Linked DNA regions of Homo sapiens: region 1 is linked to region 2. The links are contacts of gene promoters, found by promoter capture Hi-C in blood cells and fetal thymus (Javierre and others, 2016). All regions are on one chromosome and are shown on one strand. Each heading gives the region's core, a stretch centred on a gene start or on the middle of the fragment in contact. The rest is flanking DNA. Distances are from core to core; before and after follow the strand shown. Region 1 overlaps CHN2 (chimerin 2). Region 2 holds the start of CHN2-AS1 (CHN2 antisense RNA 1).

Region 1 (6,800 bases), core at 3,602-6,101, 200 kb after region 2:
AGGAATATCACACAACCCCAGGAAAGGAATGAATGAGAACCCTCATATGGGCTGATGTGGAATGGGCACTTGGAATCGTTATATGGAAAAGTACCTAGCAGTGTGGTGTGTGGAGTATGGTATTATTTGAGTAAACTAGTAGAAAAAAATATTTTTATTGATTTTTATTTTAAAATTGTATGTATTTATTATTTTTTAAAGACAGGATCTCACTTTATTGCCCAGGCTGGTCTCAAACTCGTGGGCTCAAGCGATCCTCCCATCTCAGCCTCCCAAGTAGCTGGGATTACAGGTACGAGCCACCGCATCCAGCCAAAAAAAGCTTTAGCATATATTTTTTTCATGCAAAGTCATAAATATCCCTTGAAGGATGCAAGAGCCAGTATCACTGATTGCCTTTGAAGAAGGGAAGTGGGTGTCTGAGGGGTACAGTGTGGAAGGAGATTTTTCCCTGCTACTCTTTCAGACTCTTGGAATTTTAAACCGTGATCGATGCAGTGCCCTATTTAAAAATTTAAATAAGAGAAAATAATGCGCTGTGTATTAAATTCACATACATTAAAGCATACCCTGAATAAAGAAACATTCTCTGTATGGAGTGCTTATGTCACCATACACACACACACACACACACACACACACACACACACACACACACACACACACACACACGGCAGTTCCAACACTCTGCACCCAGGCTGTTTCTTCTCAGCTCAACCCGATGCTGATAGGACACTTTCATTTCTCCATGGGGTCTTTAACGAAGAGTCTGTGTTTAGCAGAGTTTTACTAAAGGTTGGAGCTGGGAGAGCGTAATGATAGCACAGGGCGCACATCATTAACTACAGTGCAGTGTGTCTGCCCCTGGCAGTGGATTGGCTGCTGCTTTCTTCCTTCCTGGCATTGCCTCCCCTGACACACAGACCCCTCAGCTGTGCCCTCTGGGACCCTCCCCAGCTCTCCTCCCATTAACCACCCCACCATCACCACGCCTTTCTCAAACTGCTGCCAAGCCAACTCCCAGAGTCCTCTTGCTTTCTTAGGGCAGGCACCGAAGCCCTCTTTGGTTTCTACTTTCTTCCTGCAAAACCAAAGAGAGTTACCTTTTCTGGACTGAAGGCCTTCCAACCTTACTGGGTTGTCCTTTACAGATGAACTGTTTCATCAGAGAACAACCTCTCCCCTCTTGTCTCCCACTCAGCGTTTTGTTTGTTTGTTTGTTTTTTCTTTCTAAATTATTTTCTTCCTTCCCAGCTGCCCGCCTTTATATCCAAGGTGGTCCTTTCATTGGTTGTTTCACTGTTTCCATCATGTGATCTGCTGGCCTGTCCCGGTATCTTTGCCTAGGAATGATTCCCTACAATGTGCTTGAACAGAGGCCGTGGCCAGGCCAAGGAGTGAATGTCCAGCCCTCGCTTACTGGCAGAAGTCTTCATACAAGGTTGAGCCTGTCCCGAGTGGTTCTCCCCAGTGCCATGCTCGCATCTCATGGCTGGTGTCCCCGTGGTGACTCTGTGCTCATCAGAGTGTTATTGTTGTTGCTGTAATTCTGCAACAGCTCTTATTTGCTTTTTCTCTAGGACAGAGTTCAAATTCCTTACAGGAAATTTGCAGCCTGTTTAAGCCTGGGCCCCTTGGAGAAGCAAAGCCTGAGACTGGGGTTTGGTACAGATGGGGAATTTGGAAAGGCATCCCAGGGAGAGGAGGAGAAGCTGGGCAGGTAAATAGAGGAGGAGAGAGGCTGGTATATGCACGTTGTGGAGCTGATCACCTTCTCAGGAGCCGGGTAGAACTGCTTCTAAGAGGAATTGAAGTGGGAGTGTTTAACGCATCACCTCCTGTCCCCTCTTGGTTGAGGGGTACCTGTGAGCTGTTAACATTCTCCCCAGTTCCAGGCCAGGCATGCTGGAGAGCTAGGTGGGTGCCATGGGCATCCCTGGCAGCCTGTGGAGTCCAGTGCAGCTGTCCTTTTCTACTATTGAATAGAACCTGCCACACTCAGCCTCCCCTCCCCTCCCCGCCCTGGCATGCTGCACACCACCTTTATGAGAGTTCATCACCCTGTGTCCAGCGTCATTGTTTTGATCAGTGGTTCTCAAAGCATGGCCCTCGGGAACCAGCAGCATCAACATCAGCTGGGAGGCTGGTTAGAAATGCACGTTCCCAGGAGCCACTGTGTGGGGGACTCTGGGGTGCCCTCCGCCAATGTGTGTTTTAAGCTTTAGGCAGTTCTGATTCCCACCTGCATTTAAAAATCTGTGGTTTCTATGTCTGTCTCTTTCCCCAGAGGTGGATCAGTGGGAGGCAGAGGCTACTCCTCAGCCTACTTCCTAATTCTAACGCCCTCCACCTCACTCGGTGAAGCAAGCACTGATTGAATGAAAAATGGATGGGTGACTTTTAAAATGTAACACATTGCCCCACATTCACCCTAAGGAACAGCGTATCTCAAATTCACCAAGAGGGTGCCTCAGCATCTCCCGCACCGTCTCTCAGCACGTGCTCCTTCCTTCACTGGGCTAAGATCTGGCCACCAACTCCTTGTAGCATCAGGAGCAGCAGGAGTCTGGAGAAGCAGGGGAATCGTGGAGACCATCTCATGCAACCCTTCTGTTTTGCAGGACAGGAAACTGAGGCACCCGGCTCAATAGCTTAGAAAGTATTTCAGTGACACCAAGGAGGCTTGGATAGAAAAGGATGCTTTTCAGCAGCTATCTTAGAGTTAAGATTGTTGAGGCCTTTTTTTTGGATGGGATCCACAACTGTGCCACTGTGGAGGGGGTCTTGGTCCTAGGGGGTGGAGAGGCTTGGTGACTTCATTCAGGACAGTAGATTCAAACATAGTGTTACCCATTGTCCTTCACCAAGCAGAGGCGTGCATTCATTTGCCAAAGAAAGAACCTGAATTGTTAATGCAGAAAGCATTATGGAGCTGGAAAAGATCACTTGCATTACAGGGTCTAAAGAACCTATAGATTTTCTCTGCAGGAGGTTCTTTGGAAATAACATGTAACTGACATACCCAGTCTTTTCTCAGGATTCAAGGGTAAATGAAGATGAGCATAACTTAGCTATTATAGTAGGTGACAGGTACCCTGATGATGCTGACCAGCCGACTTGCTGCCCTTGCACGCAGTCATAAAATGGGGTGGGATAGGATGCAGTGAGAATGGATTTAACTTAGATTACATCCGCTCATGAGACTGGGTTTTGCCAAGCATTGTTTTAAACCAGAATTCCCTAATGATTTGGGATTTATCACTCAGTCTGAGCAATTGCTGATTTGGTTGGCTTGGTGGTTCTCAAACTGACTGAAGGTTGGACTCACTCTGGGAGCTTTTAAAAAAATGCCCATGGCCGGGCTTGGTGGCTCATGCCTGTAATCCCAGCACTTTGGGTGGCAGAGGCTGGCGGATCACTTGAGGTCAGGAGTTCAAGACCAGCCTGGCCAACATGGTGAAACCCCATCTCTACTAAAAATACAAAAAAATTAGCCAGGCACTGTGGCACATGCCTGTAATCCCAGCTACTCTGGAGGCTGAGACAGGAGAATCACCCGAACTCAGAAGGCGGAGGTTGTAGTGAGCCCAGATCACACCACTGCACTCCAGCCTGGACGGCGGAGTGAGACTCAGTATCAAAAAAAAAAAATAAATTAAATTAAAAAATATATATTAAAAATGCCCATGTTTGACCCCACCTGCCTATGGAATCAAAGTCTTCACTGGTGAAAGGCACCTGTCGGTCTTTTTTGGCTCCTCAGGTGATTGTCAAGTGCAGGGCTTGAGAACCTGGGTTAGATGGAAGGGGAGACGAGAGTAAAGGTGATCAGACATTTTGGAGCATTTTCTTTCAAGGACACCTGTCTCACTTCTTCCCATGCCTCTTATATTCCTGAGGCTCTTTTATGTTGTAAATTAGACCCTAGCCTTCTTTCTCTACTTTTACACAACACGTGAGAAGTCCTCTGGGGAAACATTCTTCACACAGTTAACTCTGGTGGCTACAGTTACCTGTGCTGGTTCAGGGTTTGGCTTTGCTCCCTTTCCATGACTCCTTTCCCGAGATTATTGCCTGAAATATAAATGATGGGAAACAATTAACTGAAGTGGGATTAAAGAATTTAATGAAGGGGCAAGGAAAAGTTAGTCCCTCTCTCAGGGGTCAGCTAGTGGTTTCTTTGGGTGGATATTAGAAAGAATCTCTTTTTACCAGTTCCTCAATATCGGTGTTTTCAAAGAGGAACGGAAGAGGAAAGTCATCCTAATACATTCAGCGTATGGAGGGATATGATGGGCCAAACGCCAAACCCTCCTTGTCCCCATCCAAAATCTCTCTAGGAAACAGCTAATTTAGAGACACGGCTCCCGAGAAAGTATTTTCTATGCAAATAGTGCCATCTTGTGGCTGAAAGGAGAGTTACATGCTGATGACACAAAGGACCAAACCTAACGGATGTGAAAATGTGCAAGAACAAATTTTTCAGCAATGAATCCATTGAGTCATCCCACTTTCCTCAAGTTTTATAGCACAGATCAGGCTACACAGTGGCTTGGGGTGTCTGTTCTGTAGCCTGTGCTCCTTCTCTGCATAAGCACGTGGGCAGCTCTGCGGGCCTAGGACTTGTAAAAATCATCCCAGGAATCTAATTCTAGTCCAAAAGTGCTCAAACTTCTCGGCCTCAGGACCCCTCTATACTCTTTAAAGTTACTGAGGACCCCAAAGAGCTTCTGTTAATGTGGGTTAAATCTTGATATTTATGGTATTAGAAAGTAAAATAGAAAAATCTAAAATATTTATTAATTCTTTCAACATAATAGTAATAAACCTATTATGTGTTAGTATGAATAACATATTTTTGTGAAAAATAACACTGTTTTCCAAATAAAAAAGTGATGAGAATATTGGCATTGTTTTTACATTTTTGTAAATCTCTTTAGTGTCTGGCTTAAAAGAAGACAGCTGGCTTCTCACATCTGCTCCTGTATTCAACCTGGGATATATTGTTTTATTTGAAGTATAGGAAGAAGTCTGGCCTCACACAGATGTGTAGTTGGAAAAAAGAGGAGTGTTCTTATAGCCTTTTCAGGTAAATGTGGGCTTTAAAATATATACTAGACCACAATTCAACAAGTGGTAGTTTCTTAAAGGTTAGTTGCAATGTCAATCACAGAAGGCAATTACTGTAATAAAATCAGTTTTGACATCATGGACTCTCTAAAGGGATCTTGGGGATCCCCAAACATTGGTGGGCCACAGTTTGATGAAGAGCCCAGCTTTTCAAGATGTTTATATTTTGACATCTCCAGAGTGGTGTTTGAGAGGAATTGTCCCACCACTTTTATCACCTTTGACTGCAGGAGGTAAATGATGCTGTCACCTGGGACTGCTGTACACCTATGGGGACTGGGCAGGCTATGATGAGGAGGCATTCTTCTGGACCTGACCCACCAAGCGCCTGCCCTGAGCACGACCTCAGAGCTCTTCCCAGTGGCTCTCACTAGGCGGTGGGGGGACAACAGGCTGAGTCTATATGAGTTTTAATTTTAGGGATCCCTCTGGGGTTGTTGAATGTTTTTAATTTCATCGAGGCTTTTTAATCATGGGACTTTTAAATAATTTATTCTGGAAGAAAATTTTTATAATGTTTAAAACAGGGTAGTGTCTTGTTTATATTTTAGTTGGGCTTAATCGTAGGAACAGTGTTGGTAGATTTAGGGTGATTACTTTCATTTTTAAGGTGAAATTGAGCTGTTTTTGTCTTTTTAGTAATTATATGGTGGTTTTTGGCTGTGAGTAAAATATTAATGTTTGTTTATTAGTCTAGGTGGGATGATATGTTAAAAAGATAAAAGACAATAATTTGGATAAGTATTTAGGGTTCTCTTGATTAAAGGTTTTTTTTTAATTAAATAGGTTTGAGGTGAGAAATGGAGAGTATATTTGCATTATGTCTGTGGGTCATCTATTGGCACTTAGTTTTTTAATTGGTAAGCGTTGAAATAGAGACTCTTGTTTGAGGAGTCTTAGCCCCTCACCTAAATTGGGTATTTTGTTGAGTATGGGATGTGAGATTATACTTGACTTTTTTGATTTGTTTTTCTAATTAGGGGAGTTTGTCTTTTTTTGTATTTTTGTTTTTGAAGAAACTGGAGGGAAAAAGTTATAGGAGTTGATGAAAAAGTTGAAGGAGAGTGTTATTATTTTAGACCTTTGTAAGGGGAGAAAAAGTTGAAAGTAGTGAGACATAGTAAAAGTTGAACTTTTGATTTATAAATTTGAGAAGTTTTTAAAGAATGACTGTTACATATAATGCTCTAGTTATTTAAAATATTATCTAAAACTTTAAAAACACAGACTTTCCTCCTCAAATCCCTAAACTCTCCTCCCTTACTCCCTAGCCACATTAAAAATTCCCCATTTCTACTTTTTATTAAAACAAATTTTTAAAATCTTGCCTTCCCCACCTTCTTACTTTAATCAGATCAAATAAACATTTCTCTATCTCCAAACACCTGTGTATCACTATTTAACATCAACTACACACCAAGTACACAAACCTAAATTTAGACTTCAACACAAGCCTAGGGCCTGTGTCATCAGGAAACAGTTCTGCAGGTGCAATTCTGATATATATGGCCAATGAGGAGCCACCGACTGGGTCTCATTCTCTTCTCCGTACAGAGGAAATACCAAGACTCAAAGCTCAAAGTGACATTGAACAAGGAGGGTTGGAAGGAGGAAACACAATTTTAGCAGAGCCTATTATTTTCCTTCTTTGGCCTCGTACTGGGTATCAC
Region 2 (6,572 bases), core at 1,750-4,249:
CCATCATATTTCATTCCCTCCTTCCAAAGGTAACCACTACTCTGAATTTTCACCTTATTCCCTTGCTTTTCTTTTTAAAATAATTTTATCATGTATCACTAAAATACCGGCTTCACAAGGGCAGCTATTTTTGTTTTGTTCACTGCTGGATCTCCAGTGCCTAGCACAGTGTCTGACATATACAAGCACTCAGTTACTGTCATAGGAGTGCAACTGTAGCCCCTTCCCTCCTTTATCTCTTGTTTGTAAATCAGTTCTGCAAGGACCCTGTCACCAGTTCACATTAGTCACAGGCCTTCAGTAACTTTTAGAAAAAAATTTTTTTCCCCCAAGATGGAAAAAACTCTATCGCCCAGGCTGGAGTGCAGTGGCATGATCTTAGCTCACTGCACCCTGCGCTTCCTGGGTTCAAGGATTTCTCCTGCCTCAGCCTCCTGAGTAGCTGGGATTACAGGTGCGTGCCACCACACCCAGCTAATTTTTGTATTTTTAGTAGAGACAAGGTTTCACCATGTTGGCCAGGCTGGTCTCAAACTCCTGACCTCGTGATCCACCTGCATCGGCCTCCCAGAGTGCTGGGATTACAAGTGTGAGCCACCGCGCCTGGCCTAGAAATTTTTTTTTTAACTTATTTGCATGTACTTGCAACAGGAGACTCTGAGCAGAATCACATGAATTTATCTGAATCAGGACTTTTTACCTTGATTTGTGGTTCACAAGCACATTTCAGGAGTGAATAGTGAACACTGAAGAAACATAAGTAGTAAAGCTAGAGTTCAACATGGAGAGCCACAGGGAGATTCTCAAAAAGCGATGCTGTATACATGCTACACCAGGGATGAGCCTGGAAAACAGTATGTTAAGTGAAAGAAGTGAAAGACTGCATACTATATGATTCCACGCATATGGAACACTCAAGATAGGCAAATCCTAGAGACAGAAAGTAGATGAGTTGTCCCCTGCGGCTGAGAGGTTTGGAGTGAAATGGGGAGTGACTGCTAATAGGTATGAGTTCTTTTTGTGGTAACGAAATTGTTCTAAATTTGATTGTGGTAATACTTAATAGTTACACATATCTGTGAATAAACTAAAAGTCATTGAATTGTTTGCTTTTAAACAGGTAAATTGTAGGGTGTGCGATTTATAGCTCAATAAAGCCATTACTTTAAGAAAGCATAGAAATTGATATTGTAAGAAAGAGAAGGTGAATCAGTCATAACGTGAGCAAACAGAAAATACAAACCCATAGGTTAAGGCCTTCCTGGACAGGATGCTTGCAATCAGATGGGAGGCATTTCAATCCCTACTCACTGATAACTTGCTCAATACATGGGGGTGCCCCTTCTCTTCCCCTTTTCATTTCCACATTCATCTTTTTCTGCAGCCAGCCCCTGACCTTCTCAGATAGTTCCATAGAGACTTGCTCTCTAGGGCTGGTTAGTTCAGCCTCCACTAGATAAATGCCTCCCTTCCCCAGTATCCCCAAAAGGCCATGGCACCCTCCTTCTCACTGAAGAATGAGGGAGAGCAGTAGGTCCCCTCTGCTAATGCTGGACAAAGCAATTAGTGCATTTCTTATGACTAGTTAATTAGCTTTTTATCCAGCTTTTTAAACTCTGGCCACAACTCTATGGCCTCGAAGTAGAGTGTGAGTCATCCAGGAAGCAAGTTTCTCTACTGTGTGCCTGATGCTCCTGAGTATTATTCGCACAGTGATGTGTCTGTGGCTGCCTCCATATGCCCCCACTTAGATGGATGCTTGTACAGACGTTTCCAAGGATATCATCTGCTGGCTCTTTTGTTGTTTCTAATCAAAGAACCGACACCCTTTGATCACAACAGATCACGGTATTGTACTACAAAGACTTTGTTAGAAAGACTTAAATTTTACACGCTTGTAGCTGTCACAGAGGTTCTGACAGTATTTACTTTTACCCCACACAAGTAAAGAAAAAATGCATTTGATCAGATCACATGGAAAATATGAGTGATTATAAATAGTAAATTTTCTAGAACCATGTATTGTTCACTGTAAGGAACCTAGTCAATGAACATTTTTTAATACTTGCTGGTTTTGAGTGCCAGGTTGTTGCAAAAGTCCTCTTCTTCCTCCCAAGTATAGAGACTCCTCTAGGTAGATAAACTTTCTGTTAATTGGAGGAAGATTGGCCCTGTCATGGAATTAATGAAGCTAAAGACAGACGTCTTTGGGGAACTGAGTCCCTGGGTAGCCACTTTTTGGGCAGGCTTCAGTATCCAATGGCCTGCGTGAATGTATAGGATGGCTGGCTCCCCTTCAAGTTGTTCATGGCCTTTCCTCCTTTTTCCCATAGGACACCTGAGACAGGCACCCCCACAAAATACAAATAAATGCCCCTTCACGGGAGTGTGAAGACAAAGCAAGTACTAGAACTTCTTCCTTAAGGTCTCATTCAGAGTGTTTTCCTGGCAACCCCTAGAGGAAGTGGGCACGGGCTACAGTGACTCTGTTGTTCTGTGTCTTCCCTCAGGTGAAATCTGGCCACCCTGGGCACCCTATGACAGCAGCACACGTGGGGATGATATTGTGCCTTGCGCTGGCCTCTGCGGTTCCCCTGACATATCAGATTTTAGACTTTGCTCCTCCTGCTTTCTAATGTCACGGGCTAAGCCATCTCTAACAAAAGACTCACTGTTCCTGGGACCTGCTGTTCACTCAAACTTTTCTCATGCTAACACCAACACATATAACACATTCACACCTCCTCACATCCTGACCAGACCATTCCAGGATGCAATTATTGTAAGGATTAGGACGTTTCACCGCAAATACAGAAAACTCTAAAACAAAGTGCTGAGGTACCGTGGTTGTAGACACTGCAGTATCTGGCTCTGTCTCCTTCTCTTAGCGCTGCCCTCTTGGTCGGGGGGCCTTGTCCTCAGCCTCACTGTCTTTACAGGGTCAAGATGACAATAGCAGTCCCCTGGGATCATATCTGAAACAGAGAAGGGGAAATCTCTTCCTCCTCACCCTGTGGAAGATAAAAAAGACTTTCTCAGACACACCTGCCCCACCCCCACCCCCCAGCAAAGTTCCCCTTGCCTCATTGGCTACAGCTTTGTCATATGCTTAGGTGTGAACCAATCACTGGCAAGGGAATAGGATTCCCTGGATGTACTTAGTCCAGTTGTGACCCCCTTCCTGGAGTGCAGATGGTCCAGCCTCTCCTGAAGGGGTGAGGAGGCCTGAACGGAACAGGGTTCTGTTAAGGGGGAAGAGGGAACCAAGAACATCCGCCACAATTATGTCATGAATGTCCTCAGCCCTTAGAGTCTCTAAGGCCACCAACAAAACACTGAGAATTCCAAGACGCATGGCCTCTCATAGTCAAAAAGCTTATTATAGTCTTAGTTGAGAGCCAAGCAATTAGTGCAACTATTCACTTAGTAATAATATCACTCCCTGAAAAAAATGTTCTGCTAACCTACTACATTAAGATGACTGACAACTCATATGTTGTTTTCACTTGTTAGTGCTTTATGGTTTGAAGCACTTTGTTTTATGGTTATGAAAAAAATATAAATCCATTAATTTAAAACTGGATAGAGTCTTTAGCTCTAATGAGAAGTAGGACAGTGAGGGTTGAAGGTTTTGATTCTTGACAGGCTTTAACATCCCTGCGCCTGATGTAAGTTGGAACTATATTATTAGAAAGGCAGGGAATAATAGTAGATGATTCAGCCCACTGCCGCTTGCTATGGGAGGGAATTTTTAAGGCTTTCATTTATGAGAAATAGTGATCATTAGCAGTTCTTTGTTTTTAAAACAGAGATTCCTACAAACGGTCAAGTCCAGTGGAATAAATGTATTGGTGCCTAATTGGAGAAATAATTTCAGGTTATTCCCAAGGAAAAGGGAACAGGCAGAGGGTTTTGGAGAGCAGATTCCTGTTTTTCAGTTTTGTGATGGGCCAGGGTGCGTAAAGATCACTGGATGAGGGGTCACGTGACCTAAGTCTATGGTAGTTCTTTCTCAGCATTTACTTTTTGTGTGTCCAGGGGCAAATTATGTTATCATTTTGTGACTTTGATGCTTATGTGTAGAATTATTAGTTTGGCCCAGATCATCTCTGAGGGTCTTAAAATTTTATGATTTTTCTGATCTGCCTGTTTCCTCTTGCCAATTTATGGTGCCTTGGTGGTCCCCCAAGGGAACAACCCTCTTGTGTGTAAATCAGTTACACTCACATATACACATATTTCAAATAGCAATTACCAGTGGCATCATTTGTTCCAGGCACCCAGCCTGTAAGACATGAGGACTGTTGGGTGTCTGTACCGTAATTGCTTTTCAGTCTTCACTCTTAGTAAGCCCAGAGGTAGTCCAAGTATGCTCCAAGGCGGTATCATACAAGCCTTTTGGAATGTGACCTACACTATGAAACCCAGCACGTACACACACAGGCACACACACACACCCCACACACACACCGTGCACACACCAATACTTCATTCCATATGTACTTATTATTTACCATGTTCCAGATTTTAGAGATACTGCAATGAACAAAACAGACAAAAATTCTGGACCTTGTGGAATTTCTAAATACAGACAGACAATAAACCAAAGGAACTATATATAATTTGTATATATAAATGTGTATCTTATATATATAATTATATCTAATTATTAATTTATATGGTATATTAGAGGGTGATAAGTTCTATGGAGAAAAATAAAGCAGGAAGGGAGACAGGAAATGCTGGGGGTAAGGGGGTCTGAGTGTTAAGTTTAGTGGTCAGAGAAGGCTTTACTGAGAAGGTGACACTTGATGGTGAGGGAGCCAGCCATGCAGATATTTGGAGAAAGTACATTCCAGACAGAAGGAACCGCAGCTGCAGAGTCCCAATGCGAGAGTGTACCTGGTGTGTTCCAGGAACAGAAACAAGGCCAGTAGAGTGAGAAAGGGGTAAATAGGACTGGCAGGGAGGAGGAGGCGGATCATGGAGGGCCTCGTAGGCCGCCCTAAGGACTTTGGCTTTTACACTGAGATAGGTTGTCCCTGGAGGGTTCTAGAAGACAGTGGCATGATCTGACTTAGGTGTTTTGTTTTTTTTTTTGTTGTTGTTGTTGTTGTTGAGACGGAGTCTCGCTCTATCGCCCAGGCTGGAGTGCAGTGGCGCGATCTCGGCTCACTGCAAGCTCCGCCTCCCGGGTTCACGCCATTCTCCTGCCTCAGCCTCCTGAGGAGCTGGGACTAAAGGCGCCTGCCACCATGCCCAGCTAATTTTTTGTATTTTTTTTTTTTTAGTAGAGATGGGGTTTCACCATGTTAGCCGGGATGGTCTCGATCTCCTGACCTCGTGATCCGCCTGCCTCAGCCTCCCAAAGTGCTGGGATTACAGGCGTGAGCCACCGCGCCCGGCCCTGACTGAGGTTTTAACAGATCCATTCTGGCTATTATGTTGAGATTAGACTAAACACAAATGCTGCATGTTGGCACACACACACACACACACACACACACACACACACACACACACAGAAACAGAAGTTCCACAAAGAGAGTTCATCCTGTTATATATGATGTGCTCTGAGACTGTCTTTTCTATTGTATTTCTCTTCATTTATCTAAAAACTATCAGGGCCCACAAGTTGATTTCAGAATCCACTCTAGAGTGGTGATGGGCACTTTGGAAAACAGATTAGAAATTGGTCCAGAACTCCAAAGATGTAGCAGATTCAGTTAGCCTGCTCAAGGCATGGTTGCGGTATACAGAACACCCTATAGGCCCATAGTACTATTTAATCATAATGTTCAAGGAGATTTTGTTAATTTTTTTAACTTGCTACACTGCGTAGCACTATTTTATTGAATGATCATTTAAAAGTTTCGTCTTTCCCTACAGTGGGCTTTTATTACAAATGTATATTTTAATAACTTTTTATAAAGAACATTTCAAATATATTTAGAGTAAAGAGAAAACTATAACGAACCTCTTACCATCCAACTTCAACAATGATCGCATCATAGCCTGGTTTCACTTCCACTCCATCCCATACCCAGGATTATTTTGAAGCAAATCCCAGGCTTGGCATCATTTCATCTGTAAATATTTCAGATGGTATCTCTAAAAGATAGGGACTCTTTTTTAAAAAAAGAATGCTGGGCTGGACTGAGCTAGTTACCTCCTGCTATTGTGGAGGCAACTCACTTCATCCCAACTTCTTGATACTTTTGCTTCTGGAAGTCATATTTCTCTAACATCTTCCAGAAAAGTCTTAAAGCTGCCTTAACCTTTTTTCCAGTCCACCTCTTAAATTTTTTCCCCCTCTTCCTCAATACTAACATGAGTGTGGATCTGGCTTGTCTGCAAAGCTTGCCTTGCTTCGAAGCATCCGACTGTAAAGAATCTTAACCTATGGCTGTGATTTGTGGGCCTGAAGAAAACTATCCATCCTTGCAAATGTCTTCTGCTGAGATGCCTCACACGGAGACTGTCTCTCCTCTTCTTCCTCCATGGATCTGCTTATTCAGGACAGCCCTGATTCTTCCACCAGTCCCAAAGGCAAACAACCCATTGCTGCAGAG

Evidence for each region. The method cuts DNA at HindIII sites, captures the fragments that hold promoters and counts their contacts. A CHiCAGO score of 5 or more calls a contact.
Region 1: a contact is called between a fragment that was not itself captured here and the fragment with the promoter of CHN2-AS1 in region 2, in 6 of 17 cell types (total CD8 T cells, naive CD8 T cells, M2 macrophages and 3 more). The highest score is 9.6, in total CD8 T cells.

The regions. Positions count from the first base shown.
Region 1 is chr7:29,404,551-29,411,350 of GRCh38, forward strand. The region is part of intron 6 of CHN2 (chimerin 2); the gene reads left to right. Among named protein-coding and RNA genes, the nearest start is that of PRR15-DT, 160 kb to the right of the region's middle. The HindIII fragment of the contact is 5,269 bases long and covers 2,218-6,800 here.
Region 2 is chr7:29,205,971-29,212,542 of GRCh38, forward strand. CHN2-AS1 (CHN2 antisense RNA 1) reads right to left here and starts at 3,000. Exons shown (of 3, transcript NR_120522.1): 1 at 2,843-3,000. The region is part of intron 1 of CHN2 (chimerin 2); the gene reads left to right. It also overlaps the pseudogene NANOGP4. The HindIII fragment of the contact is 4,492 bases long and covers 1-3,373 here.